Regions from separate parts of the Homo sapiens genome. Here region 1 is linked to region 2. Evidence: promoter capture Hi-C in 16 types of primary human blood cells and fetal thymus (Javierre and others, 2016). All regions are on one chromosome and are shown on one strand. The core of a region is centred on a gene start or on the middle of the fragment in contact, and the rest is flanking DNA. Distances in the headings are between cores, read along the strand shown. Region 1 holds the start of FKBP3 (FKBP prolyl isomerase 3). Region 2 holds the start of EXOC5 (exocyst complex component 5).

Region 1 (5,171 bases), core at 1,189-3,688, about 12 Mb after region 2:
CTGGTGTGGTCCAAATATCAAAGCTGGCACTTATCTAGGACTACAACCAAATTGTCTTTAGAAAATTCCTACAAAATGGCATATTTGAAGAGAGGCAAATTCTTCAACTGAGAAATCTTTTTCAGGAAGAATGCCAGGAAATATCATGTTCAGTTACCCATGGGGTATACGCACATAATAGCTTCAAAATACTATGACAAGCTGCAGATATTCTCTGAAGATTGAATAAAGCAACCCTATTCATCAGTTTTGGGCTTGCTGCAAGTAGAGAATGTTTTAAGAGGGAGGGCGTAAGATGCACATGTTGTAGCTTGGGAACTATTCCACATGGGTCAGGAATTCCCAGCTCTTACTTCAAAATTAGTCCAGTCTAAGATACCTGTCATTTCGGCCATGTGGGATTGCGGGATACCCATCACCTGGTAGCAAGCCTCGATCTGCTGTGTCACCAAGGGTTTCGTTGGGGCCATGAAGACCACCTTTCCTGAAGGGAACCAGCGGTAGAAATTGTACATGACCACGGCGGCAATAAAGGTCTTTCCCAGTCCGGTAGGCAGACACACCAGCGTATTGCAAAACAGAGCAGCCCGGGAAATGTGCAGCTGGTAGTCCCGCACTGGGCAATTGGTAGGGTAAATCCACAGGGCGCCCGCGGAGGTGCAGAACCCGCCATTCTCTAGACACAACTGCCGCTCAGCCTCGTACGCCGCGACAAGCAACACATCATCGTCCGACTCCAGCTGAGCCTCCGCTGCTGCTGGCAAAGGCGCCTTGGAGCTGCCAGGGCTCTGAGGTCGCTCAGTTCCGGAGCTGCAACCCGGAGTCCCAGATGATCGGGAGATACTTGAGCCCCACGTCTGAAAAAGCGTTCTTTGCCGTCCGCTCATTAGGCCGACAACCACCGAAGGCTTCTGTCAGATATCCGTAGCAGCAGCAGCTCAACCGCTACGGTTCCGATCCCCATCGGTTTCCTTCGCACAAAACTCTGGAACGAGAAGGCGGGACTAAGGCCAGTTTATCCAGTTGAAAATGCCGCTACTGAGTTTCCGTTGGGAATGATTGGCTGGCTTCCCGGAAACCTTCACAGCCCTGCCGGAGACTCATGCGCATTATTAAGGCGTTACTCTAAATATGGTCCCCGGTGCGGTTCCGGTGTTTTGTTTTAACAAACTCTAAATTTAAGTTCCGTTTCCAATGATTAGATGGCTGGGCGTCATTGCTAACGTGATAAATCACTTAAAATGTTATAATAGAGATTTATTGTAAAATATTACATACCCGGGGACAATGGAATAGCCACCAGTTTGGGAACTTAATGTTATTGAGCGTCTAACGTGCCTCATTCCTTGTACTTTTAAATCAGAATATAAAGTGAAAAGCAAAAATGTGTAGATGGAATAATTTGTCTTATATCTCTATCTGGGCTGAGAAAACAAAATGCCAAGTCTCTTTTTCACCGCGCTGGGAGTGGCAACCCATTATTTTAATATTTTCATTGTTTAAAGGGAAGTGAACGTGGTCTGGTCCAGCTATTCGTCAGAATTTTTTTTTTTAATGCTCCTTGCAAAGCAGAGCTAACTCATAGGCAACATGCCCAGAGTCAGCCTACATTTTTTTAAGTAAGGAGTCCTGATGTTCAACTATTAAATCTTTATTATAGGTAAGAGCATTATAATAAACGTCGGTGTGCAATTATTCCACTCTAACGAAGATTTCTGTCTCAAATAATTCCTGACTTCTCTCTAAACCTGACTTTGAGTAACCTCTGTAAATTTGTTTCCTCGTGTACTGAGAAAAAAATATACATCACAGAGTTACGAGCATTAATAATGTCATTCTCATCAGCAAGTGGCATCCTGAGTGCGGCTTCTTTATAAATTGTTTTATTTGTTAAAGTTTCTGAACTTCGTTTTGGACAAACTTTCTCGTATTTGTATGGGGGGAAGGGGATGGGCAGTTTGTATTTAAGTTTCGGTTGTGTGATCTTTAAAAGGGAAATGGTGGGATATGGGTTTTCGGATCGACAAGGACTGAAGCACTTCAGGTGTGACTTTTTAGGCTAGAACTAGATAAAACGAGATAAGGAGCCTGAATGCTGTTTTCTTTTAACAGGTTATAGACTGGACTTTAAAGGCATAGCTGCCTTAAATGTGGGTAATGGTTGATAAATGTCGCTACCATCAGAGGTCGCTTCACAAGGTGTCTAATTCAGAATCGAAGATCTCTAGCGGTCTTCTACTCAGTCGACTGCAGAGACGACCGCGGTAGGTTTTTCAACCCGGACTCAACAAAGAAGCCCTCATAGCACAGCCTTGACGTCACTCAAAGACAGGCCCCAATCCCGACTGCTAGAGCAGAGGCCCGCCCCTCGACCTCCGTGAGTGGCCCCGCCCCGCCCTAGGGGGCGGGGCGATGCCGAACTGCGGCGGGCTGGCTCAGTAAAGCGGAGGCAGCGGGGGAAGATGGCGGCGGCCGTTCCACAGCGGGCGTGGACCGTGGAGCAGCTGCGCAGTGAGCAGCTGCCCAAGAAGGACATTATCAAGTTTCTGCAGGAACACGGTTCAGATTCGGTACCAGAGGCGTAGGGGCGGCCGGGCTGGTGCGGCTGAGGGACGCCTCACCCCCCTGGAGATGCCCATACATTCCGTATTCCTCTGTGCCCCCGCCCTCGTCTTCCCGCGGCCGGTGGCCTGGAAGGCCGGAGAGGCCCAGCTTGTGCTTTGGTGCCTCGCTCCCGCCTCTCGGGCGTTCTCTACTGGGGCAGGGGAGCAGCTTTATTTCTTGGGGCACACAGGCTGCAATTGTAGAGTTAGAACCTCATTGGGATCCTTGAGTGGGGGTGGAGGCCAGAAAAATAGGAACCCGAGGATATTGGGGGCTAGGGCGGAGAGGCCGAGGAATAGTGGTGTGGATGAGACTCCTGGGAGCGGGGCGCCGGCTACTAGGGAAATGGGAAGGGATGTGAAGATTTCTGTGGGAACGGTGTATCCAACTTGCTTTTCTCAACAGTTTACTAAATACTGAACATTAATGCGTGTGATTTTTAAAAAATCCGTAGGTTGTGGTTTAAGTTTTGATTTAACATATCGACCCTTTAAATGACCTTTTCACCTTTATACTTTAAGGGAGCTACATGCACATTTCTCTTGTGCAGTGGTCTGTCATTGTTATAAACAGACTAAGAAATTTATTTGAAATGCTTTATACTGTAGGCTCTCCATTTGTCAGCATAGTCTCCATCTTAACCATCCGTCTATAGTCAAGTTATTTTTGTTACACTTGTTTTTCCTTTGGAAAATAAGTTCATTCATGCACCTGTTAAATTGCTGAAATAGTTGTGCACGCAGCATTCTCTTACAAGCGGCAGCCTGCTTGTGTTTTCTATACAATTTTTAAAATTCTAAACTTTTCATTTAGAAAAACTGTTTCTGGGTTTTTTTGTTTGTTTGTTTGAGACGGAGTCTCTCTCTGTTGCCCAGGCTGGAGTGCAGTGGCGCGATCTCGGCTCACTGCAACCTCCGCCTCCCGGGTTCAAACGATTCTCCTGCCTCTGCCTCTCGAGTAGCTAGGACTACAGGCGCGTGCCACCACGCCAGGTTAATTTTTTGTATTTTTAATAGAGACGGGATTTCACCGTGTTAGTCAGGATGGTCTCGATCTCCTGACCTCGTGATCCGCCCGCCTCGGCCTCCCAAAGTGCTGGGATTACAGGCGTGAGCCACTATTTCTGGGTTATTTTGAGAAGCTTATATTTTATTTTCATTTTGGGCGGGCGTCATGACAGGGAGATAGAAGAACTCTCCAACTTCCAGTGCCTTCTTCCTTAATTATTATCCTGGCATCCGCATCTTAGATTAATTTAGCAGATATTAATACAACATCTGTAACAAGAACTATTCTCAGTGTTTGGAGGTACAAGGGTGAAAAAGAACATGTGTCGGGGATCTTACCCCATTTTAATGGAACTATTTTCTCTTAAGCCAATTCGTATTTCATCTGAAACAATAGAATAGACATCATTAACATTTAATAATACCTCAGTCATGTACTTCATCCATCATATTCTTATGAAACAAATCATGCCATGTGGAATCGTATGTAAAACTGGGCCACGTGGAAGAATTTCAACAGACTTGGATTATCAAAATGTTTTTATAACATTAATCTTTTAAATGCATAGTCTCGGTCGGTCGTGGTGGCTCATTCCTGTAATCCTAGCACTTTCGGAGGCCAAAGCGGGCGGATCACGAGGTCAGGAGATCGAGACCATCCTGACTAACAGTTGAGGCCAGGCATTGAGGACCAGCCTGGCCAACGTAGCGAAACCTCATTTCTACTAAAAATACAAAAAAAATTAGCTGGGCCTGGTGGTGGGCGCCTCTAATCCCAGCTGTTCGGGAGGCTGAGGCAGGAGAATCGTTTCAACCCAAGAGGGGGAGGTTGCAGTGGGCCGAGATTGGGCCACTGCACTCCAGCCTGGGCGACAGAGCTAGACTCTGTCTCAAAAATTAATAATAATAATCTCCGGTGATCATTAACACTTAGACCTATACTTGACAATAATTATTTTATTAATCATAAGATATCAAAGAGATGTTTATGCTTTTATGCTTTGGGTATTTTCTGGAATCTTTAACAAGAAACCACCAGCATGCTAAAGGTAACTGATTACTTCCGTTTAGTCAACTTTGTCTCCTTTCCCCATCAGCTGTTATTTAGAACATATCTTTGAAAGAAAAAGCAAAAGAAAAAAATACAATAGTGATAGTGTTAGCTGTTAACTGCTAATAATGTTAACTGCTTTATCAAAAGCTTAGAAGATGCCAAAGGACAACTTTGAGAATGTAACAAAATTAGGAATTAAGCAAGGACCACAAGGCAGAAAAAGAAGCAGAATAAAATAAGGAAACAAAGAAGTTATGGAAATCCTCACAATTACGTGATTTTCAGATAAAGTTATACTACGACTTGCTATTTCAGCAGTAGTATTTTAGTGTCCATCTGCCATCTTAGCAGTCTTATATTTGAAAGAAAAGCAATTCCGCTGTTACCTTGAGTTATTAAATACAGTATTAATCATAATCCCAATATTTATTAAGTTCTTACTGTGTGACAGGCTCTATGCTAAATGCATTAAATGGATTTTTGCATTTTATCCTTATATCAACTCT
Region 2 (5,457 bases), core at 1,073-3,572:
AAATTTGGGAGAGGTCATCACTAGGTAAAGGGGACAGGTAAATGTGTAGGATGTGAACCATGAGTACTACAGAGCAAGAAGAAACAATGGCCTAGATTTGCACTGTCCAACATAGTAGAACTACCCACATGTGGCTATTTAAACTTAAATAAAAATCAATTAACATTACCCAAAATTAACAATTGAGTTCCTCAGTTATGCTAGCTGCAGCTCAAAAGCTCAATAGGTACTTGTGGCTAGTGGCTACAGTATTAGCCAGTACAGATTAAGAACATTTCTCCTTTCCATCATCATAGAGAATTCTATTGGACATGCTGCCTTAGATGAACACAAAGTATCATGGATGTTTCTTTAAAATAGTGTTGAGAAATGTGACAAATGTAACATTAGGAAGTGAAGTCTAAAGCACACTTAATTATGTAATTTGAAAAATGCATACAATGAAAAAGAGTAACATCGAAGATGTTAAGAGTTATCTGTCAGTGGGAAGGGAACGGCAGTTAGAAATAGGTAACCAAAGGGAATATAAGTAAAATGAGAGATACTTTGTACGGACTGATGCGCCTGGTAAAACCACGTACTAAAGAATATTATTAATCTCCTGTATTTGAGGTCCAACAACAAATGTTGGGGTTAGTGTCAGCCAGAAATCCTGGGGGGAAATGGTAAACTCCAACTCTGATGCCCTCAGGAACAAAAACTGTTAAGGTTGCAAAGAAGGAATTTTTCATATCCCCATTGCCAACCAATTTTCATTTAAAATTAAAATCTTTTTTTTCTGCCTCAATCTCAATTCTACTATGGTACTACTTCACTATAAGCTTTCTTCAGGGAAGAACGAATTGTGACAAAAAAGAACTATCAATGGCCAGAGAATAAAAGGTGAAATAGACCCACTCGATTGCCACCAACATTTTACAATGAGTTACTGTACAATTCCCTTAACAGAGCTATTTTGATTACACAGGGCAAATTCTAATAGTGGGACCAGATCAACTTAACACAATATATGAAATAGTGAATACATTTTTTTGTGTTTCTATTTTCTTCAACAATTAGGAACTGTAAACTGATGATTTCTACCATTGACACATATTAACAAGATAAAAATAAAAGCCTGGGCGGGGCGCGGTGGCTCCTGCCTGTAATCCCAGCACTTTGAGAGCCAAGGCGGGCGGATCACGAGGTCAGGAGATCAAGACTATCCTGGCTAACACGGTGAAACCCCCTCTCTACCAAAAATACAAAAAATTAGCCGGGCGTGGTGGCGGGTGCCTGTAGTCCCAGCTACTCGGGAGGCTGAGGCAGGAGAACGGCATGAACCCGGGAGGCGGAGCTTGCAGTGAGCGGAGATCGCACCACTGCACTCTAGCCTGGGGAACAGAGCGAGACTCCGTCTCAAAAAAATAAAAACAAAAAAATAAAAGTCTGATATAACTTAGCATGGATTTTTCAGTAGAATAAGTTAAAATGTTCTGGAACGATTTTGTCAATGCATGTTGAAAAATCTGAAAATGTTTAGTGCTCAGTAAATTTTCTACCGTTCCCTTAGTCATCTCCATTTTAATTCTAAGCAGACGGAGGTCATTTTAAAACACAATACTAATAGAAAACATATACCGTAAATAATATGTACCAGTCATCAACTCAATTCTCACAACACTGTAAGGTAGGACTATTAAAATCTCCATTTAACAGACGAAACAGAGGTCTGTTAACTGGCTAGCCCAAGGTCACGCAGCTATTCGTGGCAAACCTGGGCCACGAAGCACCACAAAACTATGCTACTTCATCGATCTTCTGATCCATCATCCCTGAGGATTCAGATTTGCATTTACCTGGAGAATCTCACGGTGCCACAAAGTGGAGTTCCCGGTTCGTGGCTTATGAGCCACACTGCCCGCTGCGCCATGGTTAAGTCAGTAAAGCATTAGCTCATCTCATAATTAAGGTCGCCACCGAGGAACAGCGCAGACCGGCTTTCTCAGACAGACTCTTAACAGAAGCCCTGAGGCTCATCCTGCGCCGCATACCGGTCGCGCTCAGCAGAGAGGTTAGCTTTTTTAGGTGAAGTCACTAACGCTTCTGAGTCGCTCTAGGCCAACACACACCACAAAAAGTTCTAAGAACCCCAACCTATAACCTTGAGAAATTTACCTATACCCTGCAACTCCGGTATTTTCTTCCTCTAAATTCTACTTCCGGAATGGTGGCCCGCAAGGATCAAAGTTCCTCATACACGGTAGCGTCGAGCCTTTTTTCGGTTCTTTCGCCGCTCGTTTTATTCGCCGGCCCCTCCCGACAACCTCCCTGGCGCGCGCAGTTCCACTTCCGGCGTATGAGGCGGTGACAATGGGAGCAGCGCGGGCGGCGCCGGGAGGCAGCTGACAAGCGTTTGCGGCTTCGCTTCATGGCCGCTCTCCCGCCCCTCCTGGGATCTGTGGGGAGCTGGGGAGCCCGCAGCGGCCCGGAGCCGGAGCTGGCGAGCCGAGCGGAGACCTGTGCGCCGCGCCTCTGAGGCGCAGCATGTGAAGCGGAGACGGCATCCAGTGGGGGGCGAGCCTCTCAGCCGGCCGGGATGGCTACCACGGCCGAGCTCTTCGAGGTGGGCCCCGGCGGCTCTACAGGGAGTGGCAGGCCCGGGGTTTGCAGGCAGCTGGGTGGGCGGGCCGAGGAGCGGGCGTTTGCTGGCTGCCCAGGAGGAGCCCTCGGGAGAGAGGTGCGAAACAGAAGGGTTGGGGTGGCAGCTCCGTGTCAGCGCGGGCGGAGCGTGAAATGGGGGAGGGGTGCTTGGGGCCGAGGTGGGCTGGGCGGCCGGTCGGCAGAGAGGGGAAGCCGGGTGTCCCAAGGGAGGAGGGTTGCTTTTGTTTGTGGGGGCAAGAGGGAAAGTCTGGAAGGTTCGGGTGTTGGAAGATGTCTACTCCGGATGAGTAGTGGGAAGGGCTGACTCAGGACGAGGAAAGAGAGCCAGGAGCCTCAGGTTGGGCGAGTCTTGTCGCTGGGGTCCTCGCGGGAATAATAGGAGGAAGCCACTTGAGATCGGGACTCTTGGGGGCTTCTCGTTTTGAGTAATTATTCCATTAGTAAGGTTGCAGGTGGCATTCATAGGACTGCCAGTTTAACCTGACATTTGAAAAGGCTGGGACAATTTTTTTTTTTTTGGACAATAAAGGCCTACTTATCTCTTTCGACTGAAGAGAGATAGACTGAAGGGAGGCAAAATTCAAGTGAACACTTTATTTCATGTAATACATAATAATACACTCGAGGCATTTACGTGTATTATAAAATAAAAAAAGTTTATAAAATAAAACGAACACTTCGTTTCATGTATATAATGCACCTTAAGTGTATTATATGCATTTACATGTATTATAAAATCACCTAACTGCAAGCTAGAGAATCCTTAATATGTAATAGTGAGAATACTAATGTCTTTCCTCGAGCGTTTACAGTATCTAAACCTTAAAATTTAATTTCGTGAAGTCCGTTGTAAGAAGCTGTGATAAAAGTTTGAGATAATAGAATAGGAAAACTCTAATTAGGCTACAAAACAATGACACGTATAAAGCATCTCCTTGTGTGAAAGAAATGAAAACGGATAAGAAAAAGGAAAGAAAGACCCCTTTTTTGTGTGTGTGCTTGTGTTTCACATTGAGTAACAAAAGTGTAATAATTGAGAAGACTGTAATCCACAATAGGGAACTTCTCCATAAGTGAAAATGGTATCCTTTTTCTGCGTAAGATTCAGCAGTTTTTGTGGCTTACAATTTGAATGCCACAGTTTTAATAACAAATGGAAATTTACATTTGTTATTGTTACTATATTTTGCATATCAGTCAGCTTTTGGATAGATAATGCTTTTTTTGAGAGGAGTAATATATGTTATTGTTATAATAAGTTGTAATAAGACAGTAATTTGTGAATGAAGGATTGTAATTACAAGAAAGACTTCAGAGATATTGTATTTTCTCACTTAAGTGTTGGGAGATATGCTACATTAATTTCTGTAATTCCAAAATTGTGCCATCTGTTTATTGACACAAGAACGGGGAGACATTTTTCCTGCTAGGAACTTTTACTGTGTCCCTAGGTACTAAGTAGTGCTGTGGTTCCTTGTTTTATTTTTCACATCTTAAAAAGGGAGAAAACGATGAAGTTGTATGAGATCTTTAATTAAGGTATTTGCCGGCAAGCCAGCTCTTAACTGAAAACTGTTATATATGTTGTCATACAGTTCATAAGACATTATCCTTTGAGTTAATCCTGCTTGACAGTTCCAGTTGTACCTTGGACCATCTTATGTATATTTTTATTTAAATGTTTGACCACATGATTTCAGTAACTTATTTGGAAATATGTTTGATTTTTTTTTTTCCCCTCTCCCTAGCGGGGAAGGGGAGGAGGTGGGGAAATATATATTTTGCTTTCTGGGGTCCTGCTATTAGGTTAAGTAGTATATATATACGTTTTATATATATATATATATACACACACACACATACACATATATATATATAACGTATATATAACATACATATATATAATGTAATTTAGTGACTCTAGTTACATGGTAGCCAGTAAGATTCTGTGATAATAGAGACAGTAGCCCTTAGACTACCCTTAGGCCAGAGGGTTTTTAGGACAAATTTAAACGTATTTATAGATCTTAAAACTGACGTGACTTTTTTTCTTGACTATATGTAGCTTGTTGCTTCATCATAATTAAAAGCATAATAGTTACAATTAAGTTTCAATAGTTATAATTAAGAAGTGCATTTATCTTTTCTGGTACTGCTATGAATCCAGCCCTACAGTGGACTCTACTCTTGAGTAAGTTTTCATCCCCAAGTGAAAAGTTGATCTCTTGGCCTTGGAGGGAGGAGGAAAAAAAATCCTGTCACTGCTCAGTTTCCTGTAACTACTGCCATAGCATCTAGGTTGTAGTAAGAGTCACGGGAAGTATCTTTTTCTCCTGCTTCCCTTTCTTAGTCCCAGCTGGAGAACTGTGGAAAACGGAAGGCAGGATGTAGTCAAGGATGTTTGGTTTTTATGCATCCTGATTTTCATGCACTGTTAAATAGAATTATGCTTTCACTTTTCATGTTAGGAGAAGTTAAATGAAAACAAAATTAAGCTTTTGAATCCATGACATTTCATTATGTTAACTCTGCTTCTTTTAAAATCTTATTGGTCCCATGACTCTCAATGAAAACAACTTCATATAACAAAATCAAACTGTAATATATTTCCTCAGTTGACCGAAATGATTTAGTAATAGATGATTTGGCTATTGTAATAGTGTATATCCTGGAAGTTTCTCAGAATACCTTCTTAGTTTCAACTTTTGTTGACAGATCTTTCTGAAAAGATCCATGTACAGTGTTTTAAAATCTCCTCAGGATAGACATTCTGAGTAAGGATTCTTATGTGGTGTAGATAAATTGTATCTTCTA

Evidence for each region. The method cuts DNA at HindIII sites, captures the fragments that hold promoters and counts their contacts. A CHiCAGO score of 5 or more calls a contact.
Region 1: a contact is called between the fragment with the promoter of FKBP3 here and the fragment with the promoter of EXOC5 in region 2, in 7 of 17 cell types (total B cells, fetal thymus, total CD8 T cells and 4 more). The highest score is 15.7, in total B cells.

What each region holds. Positions count from the first base shown.
Region 1 is chr14:45,131,748-45,136,918 of GRCh38, reverse strand. FKBP3 (FKBP prolyl isomerase 3) reads left to right here and starts at 2,438. Exons shown (of 7, transcript NM_002013.4): 1 at 2,438-2,570. The coding sequence starts at 2,463. FANCM (FA complementation group M) reads right to left here and starts at 989. Exons shown (of 23, transcript NM_020937.4): 1 at 380-989. The coding sequence starts at 887. RefSeq lists enhancers at 786-835, 1,498-2,368, 2,462-2,681, 2,369-3,240 and a silencer at 2,315-2,492. The HindIII fragment of the contact is 3,907 bases long and covers 1-3,747 here.
Region 2 is chr14:57,265,770-57,271,226 of GRCh38, reverse strand. EXOC5 (exocyst complex component 5) reads left to right here and starts at 2,322. Exons shown (of 18, transcript NM_006544.4): 1 at 2,322-2,605. The coding sequence starts at 2,579. It overlaps AP5M1 (adaptor related protein complex 5 subunit mu 1), which reads right to left and starts at 2,256. Exons shown (of 8, transcript NM_018229.4): 1 at 1,839-2,256. The coding sequence starts at 1,912. RefSeq lists enhancers at 2,092-2,291, 1,939-2,522 and a silencer at 2,832-2,891. The HindIII fragment of the contact is 4,317 bases long and covers 824-5,140 here.